Linked DNA regions of Homo sapiens: region 1 is linked to region 2. Evidence: promoter capture Hi-C in 16 types of primary human blood cells and fetal thymus (Javierre and others, 2016). All regions are on one chromosome and are shown on one strand. The core of a region is centred on a gene start or on the middle of the fragment in contact, and the rest is flanking DNA. Distances in the headings are between cores, read along the strand shown.

Region 1 (2,700 bases), core at 2-2,501, 660 kb after region 2:
ATTGCCCTAAAGGCAATTATTGGCATTACTGACTAAAGAAGAATATAGAGCAGATAACAGTATTGTGTCAACATTAAATTTCCTGAATTTAATAACCATACTGTGGTTATACAAGTGACTATCCTTATTCTTAAAATTACATGTTTTAGTATTAAGGGTAAAAGGGAATGATGCATTCAACCTACTTTCAAGTGATTCCAAAAAAAAAAGCAATACTAATGCGTATCTATAAAGAGAAAGAATAACAAAGAAAATGTGTCAAAATACTAAAAATGGATGAAATCTGTGGACTATTCTTGCTATTTTTCTACAAGTTTGAAATGATTCCAAAATAAGTTTAAATAGACTTATATTTTAAACTTAAAGCATAGGTACCTCAACTATTTTTGACCATTTTAAACATTTCCATATCATAATTCAGACAAATTAAAGTCAAGCTATATCCACAGAGTTTATGATTTATGTTAGTGAAAGAATCACTTTTGACCAAATTGCAATGTGATTCATAAATGTCCACTTTTATGCCTTTGTGATTTTTTAAATGATCAACCAAATTTGATAATTTAATTACATTCACATATTATATACCTCAGATAAAACTAGTAAGCTGCTCTGAAAAGGGGAAATACCTTATTCAACTTTCTTACCAGAAATTATAAACACTGAAGGACTAAGCTTTGTTTAATCCCTGGTATTTCCCCAATTAATAAAAATAAGCACCTTCATTTATGCTTTTTTTTCAGTTAAGCATTAATAAAAAAGAAACAAAGCGTATTGTTTATTATCATATTTTTTGGTTCACAAAACTGCAAAATTCAAGTTTATAACATTAAACAAGTCCGTTCCACAAACTGGGAGTACTATGACTTTGGTAGTCTGTTTAAAATCATATTCTCAGATGAAATAACCATATGGAAAACAATTTCTCAACAATGATGAGAGTTATTATCATTTGGCTGCACTACCACTAAGAATAAAGTGGAATTAAAACCATAAAGCAGAGAAGCTGAAATCTAGTTTCTCAAATGCCTTGGGATTAACTTCACTAGCATAAACCTCAAAGATACTGATTACCAAACTCAGTACTTCCCAGATTAATAAAAACATTATTGGTCACCATTCATCATACTAAGCCTCATGCTTCTAGATTCAGGAGGTTTGTATTTCCCAGACACAGAGTAACTTCCATCTTTCAGTCTGTCCCAGATTCTTTTTCTAGTAAAAAAAAAAAAAAAAAAAAAAATGCTCCCTCAACTTCAAAGCAATGGGGAGAGAGAATGGATCTCATGTACACCTCCCATCTTTGAAATCTTCCGAATTCCAGGACAAAAGCAGTGATTCTCTGTCAAGGTTTGTTTGTATAAGGGAAAGATAGAAACTTACTTCTTCATATAAGAAAGAAAACCCAGATAAAATTACATTTGGCAAAACAAATTGAATTTGATAGTGTCATATACCGGCCAGATGGTAGGGAAACAGGTACTCTGCAAGCCTGCTGCCTCTAGGTACTGCAATTCTAGGCTATATTGAAACTGAAAATGGGCATACCTGTGACTAACCAAGTCCACCTCTAGATATCTCCCTAGAGGGCCACTCTCCCATGTGTGCAAGGATTCACTGAAACACTGTTTGAAAAGCAAAAGAACCTAGAAGTCTGTCAATAGGGGAATTTATGTAAAGAAATCAAGCACATGCATAAAGCAATACTCTGTTATGTTCTTGGGTAGTACGTGAATATAAAGATCTGAAAAATATATACCAAACTCATAGCAGTAGTGAATATCTGGGGAGCATGGAGGGAGACCAGGACAGGAAATGAAAGCTTCATTTGGAATGTTCTAAAATTAAAAAAAAAAAAAGAAAACTTATTCATGTATTACTTAAGTAGTTAAAAATTAATTTTCAATGATTAAAAATATGGATCGAGTCAAACACTAAATAAATCTAAGACCAAGATCAATTTGACTACAAAATAGTGGAAACTGAGAAAAACTGGAAGTTAGGCTATTTAAATTACTAACATTCTTAATGCATCAGAGTAATGGCCCAGAATCGGAGCCGGAGTCTTGATCCTGCTGTGTATAATGATCCTGCTGATATCTAGAGCAAGTTATCTTATTTCTCACCTACACTTAATCATTAAAATATATATAAATATATATTATATGTAAACAAAGATTTTATATATATATATATGGAGGGAAGGAAGTTTCCTCAACTATTAATTACATCTAATTTTGTCCAACCTCGAACTTCACTCTTGGATCACCTTAGCACAGCCTAACATTGGGATATAGTTAAAATGTCTCCATTTTGAGCAGATTCTGCATGCTCTCTCCTGAGCATTCACATGCTAGCTTGGTGATGAAGATGTGTTGGTATAAATCCAACTTTTCTTTAGATTTAAATGAGTTGGTACATGTAAAGTTTTTAGAGTTTTTAAAGTTTTTCTCTCTCCCCCAGATTTGGCATCCATTGCTAATTTATGTCTGAATTTATGACTTTTAAAAACTCTATAAAACCTTTAAAAGCTCCTTAAATGAATAAAGTTACTATGCGTTTAGTCAGCATTCAATAAATATTAGCAAATAATATTATTGCTATTTCCAAAATAAGTGACTCATTTTAGCACTTCCCCCATGATCTTATAATAGTTACCACCACTATTCTTTCTAGTATTACCATAAAATACTCCAGAAA
Region 2 (2,700 bases), core at 148-2,647:
AGTTTTTCATAAAGGTTCTTTATTTTGAAGGAATAATGTTAAAAACAACATTAATGACATTTATAGAACACTTAACTATAAGCTGCCATTTCATTTAACCCTATTATTAGCCCTGCTTTACACGTGACGGAATCGAAGCACAAAGAGACTCAATAACGTGCGTAGGCTCACACAGCTGGTGCATATTGGAACCAGGCAGGAAGACTTCAGAGTCCAGGTTCTCAACTACCCAATTAAGAAATTCTGCTCTTTCTTAACTGTGTTATGACAAAAACATTTTTACTGCTAATTTAAAATATATACTCCGTGTAAATATTTATGTAATGTAAACATAGCACACATTATAAAACTATAATATTATCTTTTATCAAAAAAAGATTGCGTTCTATATGCCCATTTTACCCCGGGAAAAAGGTCTTTATTTTCCTTTGAAATGAGGAGTAGCATTTGATTTTGCCAGGGAACTTAAAATTATTTCAAGGTCCCAGTCGTACGTGGCATGGAGATTTATGACAAATATGTAATCTGTTTATTTGTCACCCAACTTGGATGACTTCTAAATGTTTCTTCTTTGTAGCTCTTGATTTTGCTTGGGTTTCCCCCGACCCATGCCCAAATAGTAAAAAACAAAACAAAACCAAAAAACAATGTCTGAGTCATGTTTGCTCCAGTCAGGGAATACCAACGTGCTGACAGACAGCTCTGGTTTTTAAAAAATCTTACTGTATGTCACTTGCAACTTTGAAGAACATTCATGCGTTAGTGGACTGCATTTGGAAGAAAACAAAAAGGAGAAAAAAACCCCCACCAAGTTGTGGCTCAAGTCCCTCTGCCATTTGCTGCAGTGAGTTTTCCTATTCCATTTTGCTGGGGAGAAGGCATGCTTTACAGAACACATCAAACTGTCCGAAAAAGGCTGTCTGCATCCCTCATGTTTATAAGAGAAGGATTTCTTTCCCCTTCCTTCACGTATCAAAGAAGTCACTCGGGGAGGAAATAAACCATAATTAGGCATGAGCGAGCGAGCAGACAGACCCCTTGCTCTGCCTTCCCTGTCCCCGCCCACCAGGCAACCGTCCTGGGCGCAACCGAGGAGCGGGTTGTCTCCGCAGCAGCTGCAGCGAGCGCGCGCCCACGCCCGAGCCCGCGCCCGCCGCCAGGATCTGGGCGGCGGCGAGGCTAGCCCGGGGGCGCGCTCGCTCGGGAGCGCGCTCATGCAGCGGTTTTCTTCTCCCACAATCCAGAGGCAGCTGCACGGGAGGGGCGGGGAGTCGGCGGAAGGATATCGGCGCGGAGGGAGCAGCGCGCTCCCTTTGACGGCGGCCCCCGGCATTGGCGGGCGGCGCTGGCGGGCGGCGAGGGGTGGGGTGTGATGCGGCACTGCGGTTCTGAGGCCGTTACTCCGGCTTCTCCATAGAGGGCGGAGAAGGCTGGAGCGCGGCGGTGATTTTGTGCCAGGGATTCCCAGAGACGCGCTGAAAGGCTGGCAGGGCTTAGGAAGCTGGGGGGTTAGGGACACACATTCAAGCCCCCACCCCCGGGAGGGGAAGGGGGCTGGAGGCGAGGCTTGAGGGCGGCGGAGGAATGGTGTCTGCTCGGGGGGAAGGGGCGAGCCCTGCCTGTTGGTACTGAGGGGCTGCGGGCAGTGGAGGCTCCGCGGGTCGAAAGCGGCTCCATGCCCATCGGTGGGTGGAACGTGTAGAGGTCGGAACGCCGAGGTCGAGTCTGGTGGCGCCTCGGTATCCTTAACGTGGTCTCTGTTTAACGTATTTCATTTAGCCCCCGTTGGGATTGATTCATTGGGAGCAGTTTCGCTGGTCTGGATCCTCCAGGAGCTGGACAACCTTGACGGGCTTTTTGTCTTGGGTTCCAGCCCCCTTTCCCTTCCTCCTCCTCCAGATGCCTTTTCTCTGCCCCTCCTCGCCCGGTACAGACATTTCCAGCGCAGGCTGCTGCTCGTGGTGTCCGTCGTCGAAGCCACTTCTTGGGATTTCGGCTCGTTTCACTCTGGGGTGTTTTTTGAGGAGGGAGAGTGCCCCCCTCCTCCACGATGGGATTTTTCTCCCTTGCCGAAATGGACTTTCATTGATTTCTACTTACTTCCACGTTTAGTGACCAATTCCCTAGGCGTATTTTTGTGGTAGTTCCTTTTTTCAAATACATACTCTGTAAAATGGAGAACGAAATTTTTACTCCCCTTCTGGAGCAGTTCATGACCAGCCCTTTGGTCACTTGGGTAAGTGGGGTGTCCTTTATTGTATATTTTGCTGAGTTATTTGTGGCTGCAGAGATGGAGGTGGGCGTTCATGTCGTGGTGATCCTTCTGTTTGTTCTAGGTTAAAACGTTTGGACCTCTGGCCGCAGGAAATGGGACCAACCTTGATGAATATGTGGCTTTGGTGGATGGGGTATTCTTGAACCAGGTCATGCTCCAAATGTAAGTTCTTCCTTCTTTCCTAGGTAACGTTTTCTTTGAGAAATAGCATATGGTGAACTTTGAGACACGATGTTTTAAGCCCCTAATTTGGTTCATTGGCCAGAAATATTCAGGTGGTTTAAGAATTGGATCTTGAAAGGAATGCTAATGTTATGGGCTCAGCCCATTATCACAACCTAGATATTTTACCTGTTAAAATTGTGAAACTTTAGTTTTTCATTCTGTCAACCATGTATTGTCACTTGTCTTCAGTACTGAAATCC

Evidence for each region. The method cuts DNA at HindIII sites, captures the fragments that hold promoters and counts their contacts. A CHiCAGO score of 5 or more calls a contact.
Region 1: a contact is called between a fragment that was not itself captured here and the fragment with the promoter of CCDC88A in region 2, in 1 of 17 cell types (fetal thymus). The highest score is 5.1, in fetal thymus.

What each region holds. Positions count from the first base shown.
Region 1 is chr2:54,759,366-54,762,065 of GRCh38, reverse strand. The region is part of intron 2 of EML6 (EMAP like 6); the gene reads right to left. Among named protein-coding and RNA genes, the nearest start is that of EML6-AS1, 9.7 kb to the right of the region's middle. The HindIII fragment of the contact is 1,147 bases long and covers 678-1,824 here.
Region 2 is chr2:55,418,553-55,421,252 of GRCh38, reverse strand. CCDC88A (coiled-coil domain containing 88A) reads left to right here and starts at 1,397. Exons shown (of 33, transcript NM_001365480.1): 1 at 1,397-2,236; 2 at 2,337-2,437. The coding sequence starts at 2,174. RefSeq lists silencers at 997-1,286, 1,347-1,396, 1,427-1,496. The HindIII fragment of the contact is 14,096 bases long and covers 1-2,700 here.